Regions from separate parts of the Homo sapiens genome. Here all the other regions are linked to region 3. The links are contacts of gene promoters, found by promoter capture Hi-C in human tissues and cell types (Jung and others, 2019). All regions are on one chromosome and are shown on one strand. The core of a region is centred on a gene start or on the middle of the fragment in contact, and the rest is flanking DNA. Distances in the headings are between cores, read along the strand shown. Region 1 overlaps SDHA (succinate dehydrogenase complex flavoprotein subunit A). Region 2 overlaps TPPP (tubulin polymerization promoting protein). Region 3 holds the start of EXOC3 (exocyst complex component 3). Region 4 overlaps CEP72 (centrosomal protein 72).

Region 1 (3,722 bases), core at 66-2,565, 220 kb after region 3:
CACTGGTGTTCTAACAACCTGCAAATTAACGATCCGTCCCCATGCATCAGAAAACAACAAAGTTCAGAATATTGATTACTCTGAATCAATACCGTTCAGAATATTATTTGGCCATGCCAAAGTTGACTCTGATTACCCAGTAACTATTGTCACCTCAAGTCTTTCTTCAGTGTTAACAGTTAATATTAAAACAATCCATGGCCGGGTGCGGTGGCTCACGCCTGCAATCCCAGCACTTTCGGAGGCCAAGGCAGGTGGACTGCCTGAGCTCAGGAGTTCGGGACCAGCCTGGGCAACATGGGAAACCCTGTCTCTACTAAAATACAAAAAATTAGCCAGGCATGGTGGCGTGCGCCTGTAGTCCCAGCTACTCGGGAGGCTGAGGCAGGAGAATCACTTGAATCCAGGAGGTGGAAGTAGCAGTGAGCTGAGATTGTGCTACTGCACTCCAGCCTGGGTGACAGAGTGAGACTCCGTCTCAAAAACAAAACAAAACAAAACAAACAAAACCAATCCATTCAGGAACTCAGAGGTGGTAAAAGAGACTTAAAATACTTGTTCTTTTTTTTTTTTTTTTTTTGAGATGGAGTCTCATTCTGTTGCCCAGGCTGGAGTGCAGGGGTGCGATCTCGGCTCACTGCAAGTTCCGCCTCCTGGGTTCACGCCATTCTCCTGCCTCAGCCTCCCAAGCAGCTGGGACTACAGGTGCCTGCCACCATGCCTGGCTAATTTTTTTGTATTTTTAGTAGAGACGGGGTTTCACAGTGTTAGGCAAGATGGCCTCAAACTCCTGACCTTGTGATCTGCCCGCCTAGGCCTCACAAAGTGCTGGGATTACAGGCGTGAGCCACCGCACCCAGCCTGTTCTTTCTCTTTTTTTGAGACAGGGTCTCCTGTTGCCCAGGCTGGAGTGCAGTGGTACGAACATGGCTCACTGTAGCCTCAACCTCCTGGTCTCAAGTGATCCAGGAGCCTCAGCCTCCTGAGTAACTGGGATTACAAGCATGTACCACCATGCCCAGCTAATTTTTAAACTTTTTGTAGAGACAGGGTCTTGCTATGTTGTCCAGGCTGGTCTCAAACTTCTGGTCTCAAGTGATCCTCCTGCCTTGGCCTCCTAAAGTGCTGGGATTACAGACCTGAGCCACTGTGCCTGGCCTGCTTGCTCTGCTCTTGTATGTTGAGTGTCACATATCCCAAGTTAAAACCTGGTATGTAAGATTATCGATTCAACTTTCTGACATAGATGCAAGAAGTCACACACTGCCTTAGGGACAGCTCCTCAAGGCACACGTCTGGTCCTGTCACATCCACAGTCGCTGCATGCGCCCCACGCTGCTGTTCTCTGTTGCTTTTTACGTAATCTCTGGCTGACTCACTGGGCACGCTAACCCATTCCCCACTGTCACCATAAGCCCCAGCACTACGTGTCCTGTCTCAGGTGGACGGGGGCGGCCTTACCCTTCCATATAAGGTGTGCAATAGCGAGTGGCCAGTCCGATCAGCCACACAGCAGCACCGATGGGCCTGCCCGCCCTTTCCAAACTTGAGGCTCTGTCCACCAAATGCACGCTGATAAATCTTCCCATCTTCAGTTCTGCTAAACGGCATGCCATAATTTTCTAGCTGTGAAAGATAAAAACAAACAAAAACCTTAACACCTTAAAGGAGTCAAGATATTCGCAGCTAATCTACACTAAACAAGTTTAACACAAATCTGCAAACCCAAAGTAACCTATTTTATGAAAATGTCAACACTTCATCAAAGAGAAGTTTTCTTGTTACATATAATGCATAGTTCATAACGGAAAAAGACTCTTCTTGTGAACTTTGCTCATCACCATTCTTTTGGCTGCCACATCCGCCTCAATTGCTTACATTTTTTTCCAGGATTCTTTTGTACTAGAAACAGACCACGAGAACACCCAGAGCCTCCCGCCCATCACCTCGACCACGGCGGCGGGGGCCTGCTCCGTCATGTAGTGGATGGCATCCTGGTCCCCCAGCCAGTCGGAGCCCTTCACGGTGTCGTAGAAATGCCACCTCCAGTTGTCCTCCTCCATGTTCCCCAGAGCAGCATTGATTCCTCCCTGGAAACACCAACCACTCCTTACAAGCCACAAACAGGAGCGCCAACTTTGTCTTCCAGGCCCAAATCCACCCGCTGGGGGGATTCAGAGAAAGCCAACTACTCACACAGTGACTCCCAGTGAGGGCTGACCTCAGCAGAGGAGCAGCGAGACCCGACAGATTCCAGATCACAACCCCTCCCCGACTCGCCCAGTGATTCCATCCTTAGCCTCAGTCTCCTCATCTGCGTGGTGGAGACACAGGGAACTCCAGGAAGGGCTGACTGGAGCAGTGAGTGAAAGGCTACCTGTAATATGCTTATAACCTAACCTATCTGGCACAGAAAAGGTACTCAACAAATCTTTCCAGATAATTTTATTAACAAATCTTCCCAATGGCATTTACGGGCATGTGTTAAAGACTAGAAGTGCTTCCTGCCAAGTAATAAACTCCACACTCAGAGTCGCACTCCCCTGTACCCCAGCTTCCTTTGGCTGTGTGTGCCCACCACTGTCTTACCCCTCAGAGAGTCCCAGAAGACAGAAGCACAGGGACAAATGAAACCCTTGCCCTTTTCTTCCCCAACCTAAATTCTGATTCCTCCTCTTTAGGTGATCTCCTTTTCTTAAGGTGTTGGGGTGGCGGGGGTAGGTGGGGAAGGTAGTAGGCAAGATGGTCAGAGAAAACCCAAGTGTGACTGGAGTCTGAATTAGGAGTGACAACAAGTCTCCCGCCCTTCAAAGTCCCCAGGGAAGAGGCTCCAGGGAGAGACCCCTGAGAGGGTGAGCTGAGTAAGGCACAGCAAGAGGCCATGTGGCTGGAGCAGGGGGAGGAGGCAGGGGGCTGCCCAGGTAGAAAGTGCGAGGCTGCGCGGGACCTGCACGGAGTGGGAGCACAGTGGGGCACCTTTCTCTTACCTGTGCTGCAACAGTGTGTGACCTGGTAGGAAACAGCTTGGTAACACATGCTGTATTAAACCCTGCCTCAGAAAGGCCAAATGCAGCTCGCAAGCCTGCCCCTCCAGCGCCTACCACCACTGCATCAAATTCATGATCCACTACTGGATACTGAGCAGAAATCTGGAAAAGAAAAATTCACCTGTCAATCACATGTTCCACTATGCCAAACATGAAGAATCTTGTGACAGTGAAAGAGCTTGACAAAGATAAAAGGAGCAACTGCTGGGCACACAGGGCCTCCATCCTGTCCTGGGGCTGAGCCCTGAACAGTTCGGGGAGAGGTGGGCACATTCGCACCTGGAGAAGGGACTGACAATCAGATTCTACGAATGGTAGAGGGTCTATCCCATGGGGTCAGACTGAGGACCACAACTCTACTTCAGGGCCGTGCCTATGCTTATGCCTGAGAAGGTGCCAAGGAGTATTCAGTCGCTATTGTGGGCTTATAAGAAAACAACTTCTCAGCAAGTTTCAGTTTTTCAACAGAGATAGGCTCACTAAATACAAAGCAACCCACACCCGAGGGGCCCCACCATCCTATTTTCAGTAGGATTTTATCATCTATCACAGCAGATACTGTTCACTGGCCCCACCGTCCTATTTTCAGTAGGAATTTTATCATCTATCACAGCAGACACTGTTCATTTTATTTTAATTTATTGCTTTACTTGATCTAAATTTAAATCTAGTTTA
Region 2 (6,437 bases), core at 3,047-5,546, 220 kb before region 3:
CACTTCCCTGACGGCGCCCACACGGCCCCCTCTCTGTGTGCTTGTCGGTACTTCCCTGACGGCGCCCACGCGGACCCCTCTCCGTGTGCTTGTCCGCACTTCCCTGACGGCGCCCACACGGCCCCCTCTCTGTGTGCTTGTCGGTACTTCCCTGACGGCGCCCACGCGGACCCCTCTCCGTGTGCTTGTCGGTACTTCCCTGACGGGGCCCACGCGGACCCCTCTCCGTGTGCTTGTCGGTACTTCCCTGATGGGGCCCACGCGGACCCCTCTCCAGTGTGCTTGTCGGTACTTCCCTGACGGCGCCCACACGGCCCCCTCTCTGTGTGCTTGTCGGTACTTCCCTGACGGCGCCCACACGGCCCCCTCTCTGTGTGCTTGTCCGCACTTCCCTGACGGCGCCCACACGGCCCCCTCTCTGTGTGCTTGTCGGTACTTCCCTGACGGCGCCCACACGGCCCCCTCTCTGTGTGCTTGTCGGTACTTCCCTGACGGCGCCCACGCGGACCCCTCTCCGTGTGCTTGTCTGTACTTCCCTGATGGGGCCCACGCGGACCCCTCTCCGTGTGCTTGTCTGCATGCACGTGTCTTCTCTGGTGGTGTCTGCTTCAAATATTCTGCCCGTCTTTTCACATGGATTTTTTTTCTTACTGCTGAGTTTTAAGGTTCCTTTGTGTATCTCAGAGACAAGTCCTTTCTCAGGCATGTCTCCTAGTCTGTGGCTTGTCTTCTCATTCCCTTAACGGTGTCTTCTGAGAGCAGAGTTTCGAACGTTTTGATGAAGTCTAGTTCATCCATTTTTTCCACTATAGGCCATGTTTTGTTGCCATTTCTAAGAAATCTTCGCCTAACCCCAGGTCACAGAGATCTTCTCTTTGGTGTTCTTCTAGAAGTTTTAGTTTCATAATTAGGACCGTCATCTATTTTGAGTTAGTTTTGTATATAGTGTGCAGTATAGACCAAAGTGCATTTTAATTTGCACAGGGATCACCAGTTGCTCCAGCTCCACTTGTGGAAGAAACAGTCCTTTCTCTCTGGCTTGCCTCTGCACCTGTAGACATCGGGGGGGCAGCATGCATGTGGCTGAGCCAGACTCCCCCTGGGCTGCGGGGCTGGCCGCGTGCCCGTGCCCACGTCGCTGCCACTTTGCAGTCAAGCCTCGATGAGCTTTGGAGTTGGGTAGTCAGTCTTCTGACTCTGTTCTCATTTCTTGAAATCGTTTTGGCTATTCTAGGCCCTCTGCTCACTGACTTCTGGAAAGGCTTGCTGGGGTTTTATGGGTCATTTGTCCCCTGACTCTTGGTCACTGTGGATTCTGCAGCTGGGAGTGCCCTCGGAATGCTTGGCCTGCTGGGTGCAGCCTTTCTCGCGCTGTCCAGAGGCTTCCCTGGTGAAATGCAGGTGCCTTTTGCAGAGCTGAGCCTCATCCACAGGATCTCTTGTTTTAAACACTGAAAAACCCCACTTTGGGTTAGTTGTGGTAGATCTGGTCAGAGGAGAAAAATGTTTTCTAATTAGAATTATTATATAAAAACCAAGAGTCAGTTTAGAACCCTCTAAAATTGCCTGAATGGCCTGTGGTGGGAGGATGTTGTAAGGCGTGGACTGTGTTTAGATGTGGCGTGTTGTGTGACCAGAAGCTTCTCATGGCACCTCCGGCCCACCGGGCTCTGCACCTCTGAGGCCAGAGCAGTGCAAGGGCACAGCGGGGCCGCCTGGCGGGTTTTGGAGCCAGGGCATCTGAGGCGTGGGCCTGCGCCCATGCTGCCAAGTGTCCGGGGGCGGCAGCCCCTCCTAACCATGTTCCTGTGTGGGGGACACCTCCACCTAGGACCCCAACACACACAGGCAGAGCCGGGGCCCCAGCAGGTCCTAGGACCCCCAGCTCCCGGCGCAGCTGGGCGGGGCTGTGGTGGCCCCGGGAGGAGGAGGTGGGCTCCGCTGCCTAATGGCCTCCGGCACTGCCCCAGCAGAGTGCAGACCCGCACACACCCTGTGTCAGAGCGGCCTGCAGGGCCGTGTGAGCATCCAGCTTTATAGAGGACCTGCTTCCGCCAAGCTTTCTTCCAAGACAGTTTGGATTTGCAGTGCTACCAGGGCGGCCGCCTGTGGGTGAAGCCTGTGGGCTGCTGGGCCATGGCTGTCCAGCTCTGCTCAGACCCACGCGTGGGGAGGGCAGCCCTGGGCCGGCCCGCGCCCAGCCCTAAGTCGCCTGTGCCCCTGTAGAGGGAAGTCTTGCCGGACCATCACCTTTGAGCAGTTCCAGGAGGCGCTGGAGGAGCTCGCCAAGAAGCGATTCAAAGACAAGAGCAGCGAGGAGGCCGTTCGCGAGGTGCACAGGCTCATCGAGGGCAAGGCGCCCATCATCTCAGGGGTGACGGTGAGCAGGGCGGGGATGGAAGGCGGGGCCTGGAGGGGGTGGGGGCGGGGCCTGGAAGGTGGGTGGTGCCTGGGGGAGGGGTGGTCAGGAGGGACATGGATTGGGGGCGTGACCTGGGGGGGGTCCTGGGAGGCGTGGTCAGGAGGGCGTGGCCTGGTGTGGGGTCTGAGGAGGTGTGGTCAGAAGGGGCATGAATGGGGCATAGCCTGGAGGGTGAGGCCTGGGGAGGCGTGGTCAGGAAGGGCATGGACTGGGAGTTGGCCTGGGAGGGGGTGGGTGGGTCCTGGGAGGCATGGCCAGGTCGGCGTGGCCTGGGGGGGTCCTGGGGAGGCTTGGTCTGAAGGGGCATGGATTGGGGGGGCATAGCCTGGAGGGTGGGGCCTGGCTGTTCTGACAGCCCCTTCCCTCTGAGGGTGCAGGTGGTGGGGTCCCCAACTACATAAACACCAGGTGGACCTGGGCAATTGTTAGGGTTGTGGCACCCCGCAGGCCCAAGGCTGCCCCAGGGTCAGGAGAGGTAAAAATAAGAATTAAAAGGGGCATAAATCCCAGGGTTTATGCCCCTTGCCCAGTGCCCCACCGCTGGGAGACCTGCCCAGGGCACAGCCATTTCACTTGCTGGCCTCACCTGGCTCGCAACTCACCTGCCCCCTTCCTCCTGCTCCTCTTGCAGAAAGCCATCTCGTCGCCCACAGTGTCGAGGCTCACGGACACCACCAAGTTCACGGGCTCCCACAAGGAGCGCTTCGACCCCTCTGGCAAGGGCAAGGGCAAGGCTGGCCGCGTGGATCTGGTGGACGAGTCAGGCTATGTGTCCGGCTACAAGCACGCAGGCACCTACGACCAGAAGGTGCAAGGGGGCAAGTAGCCCCCGCTCCATGCCTCGCGGCACTGCCGGTGTCCCCAGAGCAGGGACTCTGTCACCTCGCACTTCATTACATTCCTGTACTAACTGGGGCAGAACTCAGACGGGTGCCCCAGAGGGGGCTGGGGGGCGGCCAGGCCCAGGCCTCCCTCCTGCCCCTCCTCCTACCGGATGCCCCCAGCACTCCCCTCTCAAACCAGGTTTGGGCCCCAGTTCGCTGACCCTCCTAATACACCTGCCTCGTCCTCAGCCATTTCCAAAGTGTCTCGCGGATCACACCACACTGGGCACGTGGTTTGCAGGTCAAAGGGGCGTTTTAAAGCAGCTGGCTGTCATGGCAACAGGAGGCTGTGCTGACCTCCTGAGCGGCAGACACCTTCCAGGAGCCCTGAGGGTGGCAGGAGCTAACCCCAACCAGCAGGCAACTAACACGGAATTGGCCCCACACCGGACGTGGGAGGTGTCTGTGGGGCCCGAGGCCTGTCCTGTGTGCAGCGGACACCACGGGGCCTTCCTGCTTTCCTGGGCAGAGGGCAGAGTGAGGCCACCTGGCGGGGGTGCTGGGCGCCTGGCACATGTGTGGGGAAGCCGGTCACATGGACACACCTGTGCACACATGCCTACAGGCCAGCTCTGTGCCAAGGGCAACCTAGGTAAAACGAAAGCCGTCAGGGGCAGTGGGCGGCTTCCCGGCTGACCACAGTGGCTTGGACTGTGAGGGTAGAGTAGGCTCGCTTTGCTTTCCTGAGAAGATGCGGTGGCTGCCTATGTTCTCAGAGCGGGTCTGGGAAGATTCAGAATGTCCGGTCCCTGTGGTGTTGCCAGGCAAGAGACACGAAGTGCCGAGACACTCCTCGCCTCACCGCGTGACAGAGCCTCTGCCCGGCCCTCCCGTTCGCCCGTCCTCACTAGCTGCACCCTGTTTGCTCGCAGACCTCCCATTGCCACAGCCCAAGCACCTTCTTCAACTCTCCCAAAATGGCTCAGCCTAACCTCTCCTGGCCAATCCCCCCCGCCGGAGAGCAGGACACTAGGGAGGACCCCCAGTCCTGCAGTGTCTGTGGGGGTTTCTCTGCCAGCAGGGGGCTGAGCAGAGCCCATCCAGGACACTCCACACTGCCAGGACACACCCAGGCGGCCCGCCCTTGCCTGTCTGCACCTGGGGAGAAGCCGGCGCTCCTGCTCCCTCCTGGGGAGGCTGACGGGTGTGGCCACCCGCTGTCACAATGGCACACTGCCACTGTCCCTTGGCACGCACACAGCCACAGCCACACGTGTGACCTGCTGGGCCGTGGTTCTGGAGTCTACCTGCGGATGAGCCTGCGGCAGTCCTGGGGAAACTTTTCCAGAGCCTGTTAGCCCGTGGCTACGGTCAGGCTCTGGCCAGGGCAGAGGGCTGCCCAGGGCCAGGCTCACAGTACAGGAGGGTGGCGAGGCCCCTCCCTCACTGGCACGCATGAGCACCACCCGCCTCCCCGACTCCCAAGAGTGCACCTGCTGCGGCCACAGCTCCGTGGAAGGACTCCCCCTACCTGAGCAGAGCAGAAGCCCCAGGGCGGAGCTCCCAGCCAGCATGGTCCGCTGAGGGCTGGGGGGCGGTCTCCGAGGCCCCTCAACAGAGAAGCCTCCACCTGAGGATGGGGAGGACCTGGCAGGCAGCTTCCACGGCAGGGCTGGGAAGTTCAGTGCCTGGAAATAAAGAGCAAGGAAAAATGGACCTCAGGCTTCGTGGCTCCTTTAGGATGTCACCTCACCGGCCTGGGGAAGGCGGGGGGTGCCCAAGCCCAGCCCTGTGCCCCCGCTGAACCTGGCTGGACCGCGTGTGAAAGGCAGAACTAACGTGCGGAAACATTTGAAAACAACTCTGAATGTGCGGTTCGGAATCACCCGATCACAGACGAGCGGTCACCGGAATCGCCCGGTCACAGACGAGCAGTCATCGGACTCACCCGATCACAGACGAGCGGTCACCGGAATCGCCCGATCACAGACGAGCGGCCACCGGAATCGCCCAATCACAGACAAGCAGTCATCGGAATCACCCGATCACAGACGAGCAGTCATCGGACTCACCCGATCACAGACGAGCGGTCACCAGACTCGCCCGATCACAGACGAGCAGTCATCGGAATCACCCGATCACAGACGAGCAGTCATCGGACTCACCCGATCACAGACGAGCGGTCACCAGAATCGCCCGATCACAGACGAGCAGTCATCGGAATCACCCGATCACAGACGAGTGGCCACCGGAATCACCCGATAACAGCCCATCACAACTCCAAAGCCCTTGTGTTGAAAAGGCCGAGGACGAGTGGTCACCAAACAGGGTGGCTCCCCAGGTCCCGAAGCCTGAGACCCGGAAGGCCCTGGCACCCTTACACCCTCGGACTCCTGCCCTCCTCGGCCTCCCTGGCCCCAGCGCGGCTCCACCCTGGGCTGCGTCTCCTGGTCACAGGCTGCGTTTCTCCTTTCTGTCCGTGGGCAGCCCAGTCCCCACAGTCACGGCCAAGCCACGCAGAACGAACATGACTCCAGAGGACCTCGCCCTGGAGCTGAGCCTGGCGCCGGGTCAGGACGGAGGGAAGGGCGGGTTGGGGTCCGCGGGTCCTCACACCGCACGGCAGGCACAGAGGCTCGCCAGGCCCTGATCCGGTCTGTGGGGACGAGGGACACTGAGGAGAGGTGCTGGGCACCAGGACGCTGCCTCCTGGTCCCTGGTTGGCCTCAGACAAGCACGGCCTCGAGAAAAGAGCCAAGCGCATCGGGAGCACACCAGAAACCGGCCCTGAGCACGAGAAGAGCCTCCGCCCGGCCCGGGCACCACCCGACCTCGCAGGGAGCAGGCCCTGTCACCGACGGGTCACCTCGCCCACACGGCCAGCACCGACTCACCACAGCCCTTCCCAGACCTGGCTGGAGTGGCCGGAGCGGCGGGGCTCATGGCTCCCATCTTGGCCCCTGGAGGTGAGCTCATTCACAGAAGTGGTCCCTTCACTCTGAGAGAGAAAATCGTGGCGTGCATCCCAAACCCTAGGCCACGCCTGTGGGTTTCGTGAATGAGATCGAGGCTGCTGTGGCACCCTGCCCGTCCTGGCCTGGAGCACCCTGGGATCCTGGAGGGAGAGGCCCCACGCCCCCACTCTCCCTCCACACTTCCAGGGTTGGTGCCCACGAGTTAGAGGCACGCCC
Region 3 (7,051 bases), core at 3,338-5,837:
TGGCTGGTACCTGAGAAGATGTTCTTGAGGTTCTCCACGGCTGCGGCGAGCTGGCTGTGCTGCACCACGGCGTCTTTGACGTCCTTGAGGCTCTCAATGGTGTTGATGCTCTGCCTCCAGTCCTTGCTGACGTCTGCCAGCGACTGCTGGATGTCTTTGACGTCATTCAGGGCGTTGTGGAGCTGGCTGAGGCCTGTGCGCACCCCGTCCAACTGTGACTGGATGGCGGCCTAAAGAGAGACGCCACACGGGTGAGCAGAGCCAATGATAGCCATGCGCTGCCTCCTGAAGAACAAATCTTCCCCAGGAGGGTCAAGTTCAGGAAAGAGCCACTGAGTAGCAGGAAACAGTCAATACCCAGAAAAGAAAATAAAATCAACAAGGATTTAATTGATTCACAGTGTACCTTTTTCTTCATTGCTGCCTGGGAACAGAACAATGATGCATTTTAAAGCCTTGATGAGAAAAGGTCAGGACACTCCTCATCTAGCCTCACACCTGGTGATCCTGGACACTACCACGGGTCTGCCCTGGGCCGTGGCCTGCTACGGTACCTTCAGAAGGATGTCACCCATGCTCTCCCAGGCATCCTAGGTTCCTAAAAGGTCTTGTCTAGGCAGAGAGAACGGTCAGGACTTCACTGGCTTGGGGTGGGGGAGTTCCTGCTGTTCAGCCAGCACCACACTTGGCCCCAGGACGGCTGACCCACAGGACAGAATCGGCACCTGAGCTTCAGATCCGCTCTCTGTCAAATGTGAGTTAAAACAATCTGAACAAAATGCCCTCTAGTGGTGCTCTGTAGAAGAGCTTTAAATAAGACTACTTCTCCTTCCTCCAGTATTGTTTAAAAACTTAATAGACACTTTCAGGGTGTTGTTTTTGTTTCTGTGTTTTTTTTTTCTTTTTGAGACAGAGTCTCACTCTGTTGCCCAGGCTGGAATGCAATGGCACCATCTCGGCTCACCGCAACCTCTGCCTCCTGGGTTCAAGCGATTCTCTTGCCTCAGCCTCCCAAGTAGCTGGGATTACAGGCGTCAACCATCATGCCTGGCTAATTTTTGTATTTTCATAGAGACAGGGTTTCACCATGTTGACCAGGCTGGTCTTGAACTCCTGACCTCAGGTGATCCGCCTGCCTCGGCCTCCCCGAGGTGCTGGGATTACAGGCATGAGTCACCGCACCCGGCCTCAGGGTGTTTAAAAGCTTGTTCCTTTGGTGTTTTCACCATTCCCACTGTCTTCTAAGCAAAGCTACTGAGTGGTAATACACTGCTGAAAGTAACTGCTCAAGAAAGTCCAGCTCTGCCTCCTTGCACATTACCATAAAGGCTAGTTTAGCAAAATCATCATGGTGATGTCAAGCAAGAACCTGAAGCCCAAGACAGATCCTGGGAGTGGGGCAGGTGGCCTCACCTTCAATCTGGCCTCCACGGAGGCCTTCTTCCGCGCTTCTCTCCTGCGATACTGCTCCACCTTGTCCAGCTGGTCCGGGCGCTGGAGCATCCCAGCAACCCTTTGCACTGCTGTCGCAACGGCCTCCCGGTCTGTCTCCTTCATGGTGAAAAAGCTGGTGGAATCCTCACACTGTTCATGCTAGGGGTGTTCTCTGTGCACTGCAGGAGTTGTTAGGACGGTAGAAATGTTAGGTACAAAACCTCCCCCAAACTATCAGGTGATCACAGTGGAGCTACAAGCAGAGCCTCTGAGATCATTAATCCAGGAAACCTCAAAGAAAGCTGAACTAGGATGAGGAACTCCTTGATAAGATAAACAAACCTTCGTAACACAAACATGCAGAAGTTATACCTTTAAGGGGAGAGCAGGGGCGTTTCACAGGCATGAGAGACATGGACATTGCGAAGATTCTAGATGTGGGTCCCAGACCACCCAGCATGTAGATGTCAGCCTCAAAGGCACATCTCTCCCCAAGACAGGGCTGGTTTCTCATTTCGGGAGCTTTCCCCCAGCACCTTGGCCAGGCCTGTGGGCAGCTGCACCAGGACCCTCAGTGAAGACAAATACAGCGTGGACAACTCCCCCGACCAGGTACCACAGCTGGAGGCCCAGCACAAGCCCCACAATTCCCACCCTATAAAAGTGACAATAGTCAGCCAGGCCCGGTGGCTCACGCCTGTAATCCCAGCACTTTGGCAGGCCGAGGCGGGTGGATCACGAGGTCAGGAGATCGAGACCATCCTGGCTAACATGGTGAAACCCTGTATCTACTAAAAATACACACAAAAAAATTAGCTGGGCATGTTGGTGGGTGCCTGTAGTCCCAGCTACTCGGGAGGCTGAGGCAGGAGACTGGCGTGAACCCCGGAGGCGGAGCTTGCAGTCAGCCGAGATCGCGCCACTGCACTCCAGCCTGGGCGACAGAGCGAGACTCCGTCTCAAAAAAAAAAAAAAGAAAAAAAAAGAAAAAGTCATTATTGTCTTGGGTATCCAAAACCCCATTTCCCCCTTTTTTAACTGTCCTAGAAAACATCATGCTTCCCTCCTTTATGCAGGCCCCGTGCAGACCACAGGTGCTCAGATGCCAGGCAAGCCTGCCTTCCATGCTCCCTCCACCATCGTCCTCCTCGGGGAGCTAACACAGCTGCTTGGTGAGCATCAGTCAATGAGGGAATCCGATACACCTGTTCCCCTTGACTTCAGCTGTCTGATTTTCATCTTCATGAATATTAAAAAGATTCACCTTCTCCTGGAATTTTTCATTCTCCATGCCCACATGCTTTCAGACACCTCTCTTCTCCTTTTTCATCTGGACCTACATTGCAACCTTTCCTTTCTCTTTATTTTCTGATTATGAAATTTGGCATACCAACGTAGAAAATCTGGACAGGACAAAAATACAAAGATGCCAGAGGCAACTCCCCTTAAATCCCATCATCTATGGGCAACTCCTCTTAAATCTTGCTACCCAGGGGCAACTTCCCTTAAATCTCACAATCCAGGGACAACTTCCCGTAAATCCCACCACTCAGGGGTAACCCCCGCTATATCCCACCACTCAGGGGCAACTCCCCTTAAATCCCGCCACCCAGGGACAACTCCCCTTAAATCCCGACACTCAGGGGCAACTCCCTCCAACAGGGCTTGTTTCCTTCCAGTTTTTTCCCTTTGAGTTTCTTTTAAAGCTAAGATTCCACTGCTTATATGACTTTGTAGGTGCACACTTTTGTTTTCTTATTTTGTTTGGACATTATCATCAGCATTTCCATTGACATTAAAGCCTGTATGATTTTGATTATAGGGCTGGATAATAACCCAAGAAGTGGACCCCCAGCCGCTCTGCTGGGGCACGCGGTGAGGTGGCTGCGCCCATCTTAAGGCTGGAGTGAAGTCTGTCACGCTGTGGGTGGAAGCCAAGGCAATGTGAGTGGAGAGCTGTGAAGCAGGGCTCGCCTTGGAGTCAGAATAAAGCTACTCATGTGGAAAAGGGGAAAATCTGGAGTTAAAAAACGCACCGCAGAGGCTTCCATCCCAGCCTGAAGACTAAAGATTTTGGGTCACAGAAGCCAAAGAGGAACTCAGAGACCATAAACAGAGACCCAGGTCCAGCCCCTACCAGGGCCTTTCTGACTGCCTTCCCCTGGCGCTGGCTCCGCTGTGAGCCTCTCCGCCGAGCGGGGGGACACCCTACTGCGGGGAACATCAGCACCCACGGAGACACCTGCGCCAGGGAGACACCTCTGCCGGGCAGACACCTCTGCCAGGAGGGACCCTTTACCGGGGGGACGCCTGCGCCGAGGGGAACACCTGTGCTGGGAGGCACCTCACGGAGGGGACACTCCGCTGGAGGACACCTGCACCTTGGAGGACACCTGCACCTTGAAAGCTTCCTAAAGGCCAGGAAGGACGCTTGTGCCCAGAAGGACACCTGCTCCGACGAGGGACACCTGGTCCGAGGGGGGACACCTGTGCCAGGAAGGACAACTGCGCCTGGGGGGGGACACCGTCAAGAGGACACCTGCACCAGGAAGTACACTTGTGCCTGGGAGGGACACCTGTGCTTGAGGGGACACTTGCACCTTGGAGAACTCCTGCGCCGAGGGGACACCTGCGCCAGGAAGGACACTTGTGCCTGGAGGGACATCTGCCCCAAGGAGGGACACCTGCTCCGAGGGGGGACACCTGTGCCAGGAAGGACACCAGCGCCTGGGGCGTGGGGGAAGACACTGTTAAGGGGACACCTGCACCAGGAAGGACCTTGTGCCTGTGGGGACACATGTGCCAAGGGGACACCTACGCCTGGGGGGGACACATGTGCCGGGGAGGACACCTGCGCCGAGGACACTCGCACGAGCGGGATACTCCACGGGGTCCGGAACGGCCTCCCCGCCCTCCAGGTCCCGGTCCGGCCTCCCCCTACGCGCCCCCGCGGAAGCCAGAGACAGGGAGAGCAAGGATGAAAGACGGCGACCACCTCCCAAGGACCCGCCGGCCGTCAGGACCTGCCACCGACTCACCCTCTACGGCTACGCCGCCGCCGCCGCCGCCGCCGCCGCCGCCGCCGCCGCCGCCGCCGCCCCCGCCGCCCCCTCCGCCTTCGCTGCCTCCGCCTCCGGGGTCCCGGCCGGAAGTGGACAGCGCGCGGGCACTTCCGCTTCCGGCAACGGCGCCGGAAGCACGGGTCCGGGCCCTCCCGCGGGGCGGGTACTCGTCTCCCGGCCGAGCGACTTCAGCTCGGGGACCTGCCCCATGGCCGCTCCCCAGCAGGACAGGGAAACCGCCGAGGTGGGGGGCTTCTTGTCCGTCCCAGCCCCCCCAACTCAGGCCCTCTCGCTGCCCCTGGCGACCACCGCGTGCGCCCTTCCCCAGGGCGGGCGCAGTCCTGGACGCCTCCGCCGAGCGTGACTGCGTGCATTTTCTCTCCTTTCCCTTCCCAACCTGCGGAGAGAAGACAGCCCCAGAGCCGCTGTCTCCATCCTCTGCTGATGCCTGCTGTCTTTATGTTGGCCTCGTCGTCCGCACTGCAGTGTGGCAGGGGCGTCCCTCGTTTCCCGCGGACTGAGGTGGGCGCCGGGCATTCAGTAAACGAAGAAACCAAAGCGGAGAAGGTTGGGAATCAAACGTCTGTCATACCTGCCACCAGCAGACAAGCGGCTTTGGGTACCTCCTGGACCCAAAGACGAACTCAGCCCCTCCAGGAGCGCAGTCATTGGCACCCTCGTGGGAACAATGCCAGTGGGATGGGTGGCCACCGGATGTTTCCGGGGCCCCTCAGAGGCCCAGCAGCGCAGGTCTTGGAGAATGAATGTGGGTCACTGGGCCGCGCTGCAGAGGGCCGGTCCTGAGTCGCTTCCTGGAGGAGAGGCCCATGGCCAGCACTTGGCTTCGCCTGGAGGAAGAAGCACGTGCTAAACCACGAGCGTTCAGGGTTTGTCTGTTTGATAAAAGATGCTGGCTTTGACACACCAACTGACAAAGTCTTTCATAGGTTGGAGCTGCTAGGTTGTGCCCCTGCCCCTCCTGAAAATTAGCCACACGAAAGGAAGGGTCTGGAAGGTGGCAGGGAAGCCAGCAGAGACCAGGGAAGTGGCAGCAGCATGGGGCAGGGGCACACAGGAAGGAGATGGAGCTTGCGGGAGCCCCCACTGCCACTCCGACAGGGAGCCCTGCCCCGTGCCCTGCTGATGTTGACACTGACCCCGGCTCTATTATTTCAGTTTTTCCTTGTAATTTCTGAAAATCTAGCAACAAGTTGAGCAATGAAAAAAAGTAAAAAAGTTAAAATTGTGTTAGAAATTATGACTGTAAAGAAATTTTGAAACTAATGAAGAAAAAATTGCCAAAATTGCCAAAGCTTTTAGGACTCTTAAAAATATAGTAACATTGAGTATTATGAACTAAAGACTCATACTATTATATCAGTGTCTGGTAGTGAATTTGGATGGAGGACTGTCTAGTAACTTCTTAACAAAACATTGATTAGAAGTCTTTCTTGGCGGGGCGCCGTGGCTCACGCCTGTAATCCCAGCACTTTGGGAGGCGAGGCAGGTAGATCATGAGGTCAGGAGATCGAGACCATCCTGGCTAACATGGTGAAACCCCGTCTCTACTAAAAAAAATACAAAAAAACTAGGCAGGTGTGGTGGTGGGCCCCTGGAGTCCCAGCTACTCGGGAGGCTGAGGCAGGAGAATGGCGTGAACCCGGGAGGCGGAGCTTGCAGTGAGCCAAGATCGCGCCACTGTACTCCAGCCTGGGCAACAGAGCGAGGCTCCGTCTCAAAAAAAAAAAAAAAAAAAAAAAAAAAAAAAAGGTATTTATTGGCTGGGCGCAGTGGCTCCTAACTGTAATCCCAGCACTTTGGGAGGCTGAGATGGGCAGACCCCTTGAGCCCAGGAGTTTGAGACCAGCCTGGGCAACATGGTCTTTTTGGTAGGAACCCCATCTCTACCAAAAAAAACCCCACAAAAATTAGCCAGGCATGGTGGTGCATGCCTGTAATCTCAGCTCCCTGGGAGGCTGAGGCAGGAGAATGGCTTCAACCCGGGAGGAGGAGGTTGCAGTGAACTGAGATGGCACCACTACACTCCAGCCTGGGTGACAGAGGGAGAATCTGTCTCAAAAAAAAAAGTTTCTTGACTTCTGTTTTTGGCAGACCATGTTCTGCGAACACCCAGGAGCACTGCTGAGTGCAAGCATCATGTCGATTGCACAAGTGGATTCACGAACAGGCAAGGACGTGACCAGGGACAAATGTGGGAAGGGGAGAGGACGTGAATCAGAAGCAGAGATGCTTGCCGTCCTACAGCAGGCAGGTGGGTGGGTAGGGTGCGAGTTCTGCGGCCCAGGGGTTGGGTTTTACACTGAAGCAGGACAGATGATGAAGCTAAGGCTCCCAGCAGGTGGGAGGTGGACGGCGACTCCCATGTGAAGCACAGATGTGCAAGGGATGCATCCTCAGTGAAAGCGTGGACTAGGAAAACAGCAACAGCCTGGAGACTGTTCCTAAACTCAGCCCTCGGCGGAAGCCAACCCAGGGTCATTGCTAGAGGGATCCTCCTCCACCTTGACAGGAGCAAACTCGAGGGGGAGGGAGGG
Region 4 (6,707 bases), core at 2,630-5,129, 200 kb before region 3:
CCCGCCCTGCCCAGCCCTGCAGCACCCTCAGGGGAGGGGGGAAGTGAGGAGAGGGATGGAAAGGAGCGCCCCAGTCCTGTGAGAGCCCCACTCCTGAGTCTCCCTGAGGCATGTGCTCCAGCAGGACCTGCAGGCCTGATGCTGGGCAGGGCAGCTGGTGGCGGTTGGGGGAACCCTGTCTCTTCCAGGACGCCCTCACGGACACTGCGAGCCCCAGGCCTTGGTGCCAGTGTGAGGCACCGGTGGCCCTGCAGGAACCCCCTTCTGTTCTGGCTCCTTTCATATCCTCAAAGTATGGAGAAGACCTGGAGCACAGGACGAGCTGTCATCGAGGAGGGGAAAGGGCCACGCCTGCAGCTACACGGCAGCCTCTGCCCCTCCCTGGCCCCAGGGTGTCTGGTGAGGTGTGAGCCATCCAAGCCGCCAGCACCTGCGGCCAGGGTCCCCAGGGATCCCGTCTCACCTGGCTGCTGCTCTCTCAGGCACCAGCAGGCACATCCTGGGGCCGGGGGTGCTGAGCAGGCCCCAGCTCACTGCCACCAGGGGAGGGAGCGCCTGAGTCTGTGCAGCAGAAGCCTCGTGCTGGGGGTATCGCCGCTTCATCCTTCTCCGCTCAGTGAGCCCACCCGCCGACAGCCCCCTCAGCATGCATGCACCCGCCAGGCCCCCGACGCCCATGGTGAAAGCTGATCGCTGGGTCTGAGACCATTCCCCTCAGGCTTATCTTGGCCCGTTCTTCATTTCGCGGACTTCTCCCCAAGGTGTCTGCTGCAGTGGCGCCAACCAGCATGACCTGCCCTCCGCGCGGGGCTTTGGGTCGTCCAGAAAGCTCCTGGCAGTGCCACGTCTCATGGTTTTGCCTCCCAAGGATGCGGTGAGCTCTTAAGGCAGGGCTGTGAGCTCCCAGCTCTTTTTCATTTGTTTCTTTGAGGCAAAGTCTCCCTCTGTCGCACAAACTAGAGGGCAGTGGAGCAATCACAGCTCACTGCAGCCCCCAACTCCTGAGCCTCCTGCCTCTACCTCCCAAAATAGCTGGGATGACAGGAGTGTGCCACCACACCTAATTTTTTATTTTTTGGAGTCTAGGCCACGACAGGTGCAGGGAACAGAGGACCGACTGCACCCAAGCTGGGCGCAGCCCATCTGCCTCAGAGGCCGTGCCAGGCACAGCAGCTGGAAGTGGGGCCACCTTGCCTCAGGACACCCGACTGCAGCTTCCAAAGGAAGCAAGGTCTAGGTTCATGTGACCGAGGGATGAGCGTCCTCACGTGGCAGAGTAAACTTGGGTGCTTCTGGAGTGACAGATGTGGGCCTCCCTGGAAAGCAGTGCCCACCAGCCTGCACGGCTGCTCCCTCCGCGGGGTTCCTGACGGTGCTGACTGCTCCTTACCCGCGGGGCTCGGGCTGCCAGATTCTTCTGGATCACTCACCCTGACAGGGAACCAGGGCTGCTCTGTCCAGAGGCCCAGGGCTGCCTGCAAACTGCAGGGGTTAGGCAAACTGCAGAGGGCAAAAAAGCAGGCGTCCACGGCAGCCACAGCTGCATGTGACTCTCACCCCTGGCAGCACTGGTGCTCGGCACACCTTTGGGCTCCGCCTGTCAGCTCTGTCTCGTCCCAGGCTCAGAAGGGCAAGGGGTGTGCCTGACTGTGTCCCACAGAAAAGACATCATCAGTGACGGCGCCCAGCTCACTTTCCAGACAGCCGGTCACGTGTGTTTCAGTATAAAGGCTTCCAGACGGGGGGCCACACGTGTTTAAATATAGAGGCTTCCAGAGAAGGGGCCATGTGTGCTTAAATCCAGAGGCTTCCACCAGATGAGGGGCCATGTGTGTTTAAATACAGAGGCTTCCAGAGGAGGGGCCACGTTGGTTTAAAAGCAGAGGCTTCTGGACGGGGGACCACGTGTGCTTAAATGCAGAGGCTTCTAGATGGGGGACCACGTGTGTTTAAATGCAGAGGCTTCTAGACGGGGGACCACGTGTGTTCAAATGCAGAGGCTTCTGGACGGGGGACCACGTGTGTTTAAATGCACAGGCTTCTGGACGGGGGACCACGTGTGCTTAAATGCAGAGGCTTCTAGACGGGGGACCACGTGTGTTTAAATGCACAGGCTTCTAGACGGGGGACCACGTGTGCTTAAATGCACAGGCTTCTAGACGGGGGACCACGTGTGTTCAAATGCAGAGGCTTCTGGACGGGGGACCACGTGTGTTTAAATGCACAGGCTTCTGGACGGGGGACCACGTGTGTTTAAATGCACAGGCTTCTGGACGGGGGACCACGTGTGCTTAAATGCAGAGGCTTCTGGACCGGGGACCACGTGTGCTTAAATGCACAGGCTTCTAGACGGGGGACCACGTGTGCTTAAATGCACAGGCTTCTGGATGGGGGATGGGGGGCCATGTGTGTTTAAATGCAGAGACTTCTGGACGGGGGATGGGGACCCACGTGTGTTTAAATACAGAGGCTTCCAGATGGAGGAGGCCCACATGTGTTTAAATACAGAGGCTTCCAGATGAAGGCCACGTGCAGAGGCTTCCAGGCGGGGTGGGGGGGCCACGTGCGTTTAAACAGAGGCTGCCTGTGTTGTTTTGCTGTGTTTTTCTTCTCTAAAGAGGAAGCGTTGTGTGGGATCTCTGAGATGTTGGTTCCCATGAAACGGACAGTATGTACTTGTCAGACAAGTTCAGAGGCAGTTTTCGAAGCCGTCCCGGGCCGACTTCACTCGCAATTTAAAGATGCTGACAAGGCCCCTCTGGATGTGCACATCCTCACGTGGCTCTGCCCTCACACCAGGACTCCCGGAGGGCGGCTTCTGCCTGGGTGTGGCTCTCTGACCACCAGCTCCCTGTGCTAAGGATGCCAGCAGCCCGTGGGGAGGCCCTTGCAGCGTGGAGGGAGCCTGGGAGGATCCTGTCCCGTGAGGCCTCAGATGAGACGGTGGCCCCAGCCCACGGCTGAGACAGAGCCCCCATGAGGCCTCAGATGAGACGGCGGCCCCGGCCCACGGCTGAGACGGAAGGAGGGAGCCTGGCTGAGCTGAGCCTGAGGCCCAATACACAGAAATCCAAGGTGATAAATGCAGGTTTTCAGCTGCTGGTTTTGGGGTAACTTGCCCTGTAGCCCCAGCTCACCATGGGACACTGGCCGTCATCTCCTTCATAAAAGGAGAGTGGCCTCGGTTTTCCCCAGTTCGAGGCCCTGAGAGATGGGTCAGCAAGACAAAGTCACGTCCAGGCCTGGCTCCTGCAGCACCCGGCACTGCCCAGTGGTGGAGGGTCCCTTGGGCCCGGGGAGAGAAGGTGGCCAGCGCCACTGCTGTCTCCAAAGTGCTCCAGGCCTGTTGTGAGACAGGGCAGGCCGCGTTCCGGGGGTGGCCGGGTCCCGGGCAGGGAGTGGAGACATGGGGCTGCAGAGATGGCAGTTGGGACAGTGTGGCATCAAGGAGCTGCCCTCGTTCCTGGAAGTCAGAGCCATGTTTCCCCCAGTCACATGGACACAGACACAGCGCCAGGGCGGGCTCACCAGCTCCTTGTGTGTGTGGTGCAGCTCCGCCGTCACCTCGCTCATCTCCCGGGCGTGCTGCTGCTGCTGCTCAGCAAGGCGGCTTTGCAGGGACTTACTCTCCAGAGCCAGGGAGCCGACATCTTCACCCACCATCGCAGAGCTGTCCTGAGCTGCTGTGAATTCTTCAACAGATGACAAGATGTGTCTTGCCTGAGCTAGGAGTGAAAACCAAATATTACATTAGCACTTAGGCTTAAAGGATGAAATGTAAACAAAATCGGCTCAGTATGTTTTGAATCACACAGACGATGCCTCAAAAAGACGACAGGTAGGGAGAGGGGAAAGGGGTGTTGGCGCCACAAAACCACCTCAGGCTCTGTGCGTCCACACACGGGCAGGGTGGGAACTGAAGAAAGAGAAGAGGTGACCTCCAAGAAAAGGGGCAACCAGGGGCCGCCACGTCTCAAGGTTTCAGTGGCGCCGCCACAACTCGCTGCGCCTTCCACAAGCACCGACTGCCCTGTGTGGAAACCACCATGCAGACGACAGCTGGCAACTCCACACTGGGACAGTGGCCTGGGCCTGGGACAGTCCCCCCGCCACCGACGATGGCAAGCTCAGGAGGCTCCCACAGGACACCAGCCTAGGGAGAGGGGAGGTTTATGGGGCTGGGGTCCAGGTGGGCTGCGACTGCAGGGCGTCCTCATTCTAGGAGCTGAGGGGCTATAACACTGCAAGGCGCAGTCAGACAGCTCAGAGCCGTGCCCAGGGTCTGCGGGGAGAAGCACACTGGCTAGGCTCCTGAGGGACACACACAGCCACACCCCAGGATGCAGGACAAAGAGAAGGTGCCCCTGGGGACGCGGCATCTCCTGGTCTCCCAGTGTGATCCTGGATGAGGGAGGCCCCAGTGTGCTCATGTACGGGTTGCCTGGTAGAATCCAACAGACCCAAGTCCTCTCTGGGGAGGGACCACCCTCCTGGGTCCCACACCAACCAAAAGCTCTGCAATCCAGGCCCAGCACAGGCTACACGTCTGGGTCGGGGGAGAAGATGCTGAGCAGCTTCCAAACTCCAAATCCCCATGTGATCACAGCCATCAGAACCAAGCCCCTTTGGACAGCATTTTGAGCAAAATGAGGTGACAGGCCCCCCAACACCCCAGAGCACAGCGGGGGACCCACAGGCCCAGGCCCATGTGGTGTCTCCCGAGAGCCCTGGACACTGTGAGATGCAAAGACTGCCAGGGAGGGCCCAGGCGCGGGACCACCACACGCTCGTGGGAGGGGACATAGGAGACCTGGGGCTGAGATGACTCCTAGGTCACCACACGCAGAGGACCCCGGAACCCACACAGACGCTGCCTACAGGGCAAGAGCAGTGGCCGCCCTGACTCACCAAGGAATGCCTCGTTGCTGTGCAGGGACCTGCAGCCGCCCCAGCTCCTGTCCACCAGGTCCAAGAGCGTCTCCAGGAGCGCCGCCTGCAGGGCCGTCTTCTTCCCGGGTAGAGCCGAGTGTGACCCGGGAGACGGCTGTGATGGAAACAACAGCATGAGGCCAGCGAGTCAGTAACTGAGGTCCTGAATGCCAGCAGGTGCCCAAGCGCACCCTGGGATGCCCTCGCACCACGAAGGGGAGGACAGGTGCCCTGAGGCCCCAGCCCTGAGCCAGGTGGAGGGCGGCTCAGCAGTGCCTGCCCAGTGAGGCTTAGCCAGGTGCACCGGTCCTGGATGAGTGAGGTCTCGATGACAGGACAGGACGGGGCCCACACATTCCCAACTCAAGCAGGCCCCAGACTCCTCCCCTCAACCCAGACAGGGAAGCGGAAGACACATCCAGGCCGCAGTCAGAGCCTGTGTTCAAAAGGAGCTGCCCAGGAAGCAGCCTGCACCCACAGTCAGGCTGGTAGAGGGTGCCAGGCGCTGTCCCCAGCAATGGCCCGGAGTCAAACAATAACCCTGAAACAGACCGCCCACCTCCCCCATCTCTGCCTCCTTCCAGCTCAGGACCTGCCGGGGACGTCAAACACGCCCCACCCAGCTCTGGGACCCCCCCCCACCCCATGCTGCTACGGAGCTGCCTCTAGCTCCGGCCATGCCTCCCTTCCTGTCCCACAGTTCCGCACCTTCAAGCTCCTCTGCCTGCATGGGAGTCTGAAGCCCTCGTTGTGGCAAGTACCAAGTGAACAGCCCCTGCCTGTTCCCTTCTGGGTGGTCTGCACTCATGTCTACAGCAGGTGTGTCTCAACGCCTCTGACTGGGCCTGCGCCAGTTGTCCCCCTGACCTCTAGGTCACCCTGAGGGTGGAGTGACTCGGTCTCTCATCACAGCGACCTCCAGGATCCTCCCCTCACGAAAGGGTCATCAATGGCTCAGCCGGCCAAGATGCCCGATTCCAGCTTTGGAGACAAATGCCCTGTGCACCGTAAGGCAGAGTCCCCTCTCTCCACCACGGGGCTTCCACTCAGAACAGCAGCGCAGGACAGCGTGTGGCACAGAGGCACACGTCCAACAAAACGCAGCAGCAAGCACCCTGGAACCCTAAGTGTGATGATTCCCTTTATCCTGGGACACGGTCAGTGCCGTAGGCGTAATCACGGCACCGCCAAAGCCGTAACAGCCCCGCATCAGGGAGGGACACGGTCAGTGCCGTAGGCGTAATCACGGCACCGCCGTAACAGCCCTGCATCAGGGAGGGACACAGTCAGTGCCGCAGGCGTAATCACGGCCCCGCCAAAGCCGTAACAGCCCCACATTAGGGAGGCAGTGCCGTGGGCCTGCTGCTCCCCAGCCCTTCTCTCACCTCTCTGGTGTCGGTCACACCCCGAGACCTCTGCTCCTCAGTCTCCGAGGCCTCAGGCTGAGACAAGGTCCTCCCGTTCCTGCTTTCTGAGCTGTCCTGTCTGCTCAGGCTCTCCTTGGGCACGGAGGACCCATGAGTTCTCTCCGGGCAGCCCAAACCCTCCTGGTCCGAAAACGTCTGGAATCTTCCAACAGGCATTCTTCGCTTCCTGCACTTTCCGGGGGCTGGCAGGGGACCAGGCACCATTTCTCCTGACAAATCCAACTTCTGAGAAGAGGCCGAGTCCTCGGTATCCATGGAGTCTGAGATATAGAGAGGATGGGGCGCACGTCAGGCCAAATTCTCTGGGTGCAGTGTTCAGCACTGTAACTTTTAAAAGGCATGTGTGTGCCC

What was found. The method cuts DNA at HindIII sites, captures the fragments that hold promoters and counts their contacts. A contact is called where the count stands out against the background at its distance.
Region 1: a fragment that was not itself captured here is called in contact with the fragment with the promoter of EXOC3 in region 3 in 1 of the 25 tissues and cell types used here (dorsolateral prefrontal cortex).
Region 2: a contact is called between a fragment that was not itself captured here and the fragment with the promoter of EXOC3 in region 3, in 1 of the 25 tissues and cell types used here (dorsolateral prefrontal cortex).
Region 4: a contact is called between a fragment that was not itself captured here and the fragment with the promoter of EXOC3 in region 3, in 3 of the 25 tissues and cell types used here (dorsolateral prefrontal cortex, pancreas and spleen).

The regions. Positions count from the first base shown.
Region 1 is chr5:223,787-227,508 of GRCh38, reverse strand. It overlaps SDHA (succinate dehydrogenase complex flavoprotein subunit A), which reads right to left. Exons shown (of 15, transcript NM_004168.4): 3 at 2,988-3,149; 4 at 1,947-2,090; 5 at 1,462-1,626. Among named protein-coding and RNA genes, the nearest start is that of SDHA, 7.3 kb to the right of the region's middle. The HindIII fragment of the contact is 6,814 bases long and covers 1-3,722 here.
Region 2 is chr5:661,913-668,349 of GRCh38, reverse strand. It overlaps TPPP (tubulin polymerization promoting protein), which reads left to right. Exons shown (of 4, transcript NM_007030.3): 3 at 2,227-2,380; 4 at 3,054-6,437. The coding sequence ends at 3,248. It also overlaps a transcript of CEP72 not described here. Among named protein-coding and RNA genes, the nearest start is that of TPPP, 28 kb to the left of the region's middle. RefSeq lists enhancers at 2,710-2,879, 4,297-4,466, 5,768-5,937. The HindIII fragment of the contact is 4,891 bases long and covers 1,851-6,437 here.
Region 3 is chr5:440,712-447,762 of GRCh38, reverse strand. It overlaps EXOC3 (exocyst complex component 3), which reads right to left and starts at 4,587. Exons shown (of 13, transcript NM_007277.5): 1 at 4,473-4,587; 2 at 1,414-1,613; 3 at 11-230. The coding sequence starts at 1,557. EXOC3-AS1 (EXOC3 antisense RNA 1) reads left to right here and starts at 4,603. Exons shown (of 1, transcript NR_126522.1): 1 at 4,603-5,928. LOC124900930 (a long non-coding RNA gene) reads right to left here and starts at 942. Exons shown (of 2, transcript XR_007058671.1): 1 at 555-942; 2 at 371-424. RefSeq lists enhancers at 662-741, 3,923-4,012, 4,063-4,192, 4,963-5,072, 5,093-5,142 and 2 more and a silencer at 4,493-4,882. The HindIII fragment of the contact is 5,164 bases long and covers 2,524-7,051 here.
Region 4 is chr5:637,426-644,132 of GRCh38, reverse strand. CEP72 (centrosomal protein 72) reads right to left here. Exons shown (of 12, transcript NM_018140.4): 7 at 6,315-6,616; 8 at 4,909-5,044; 9 at 3,529-3,725. Among named protein-coding and RNA genes, the nearest start is that of CEP72, 28 kb to the right of the region's middle. RefSeq lists enhancers at 403-452, 473-532, 75-575, 576-1,076, 1,136-1,305. The HindIII fragment of the contact is 9,549 bases long and covers 1-6,707 here.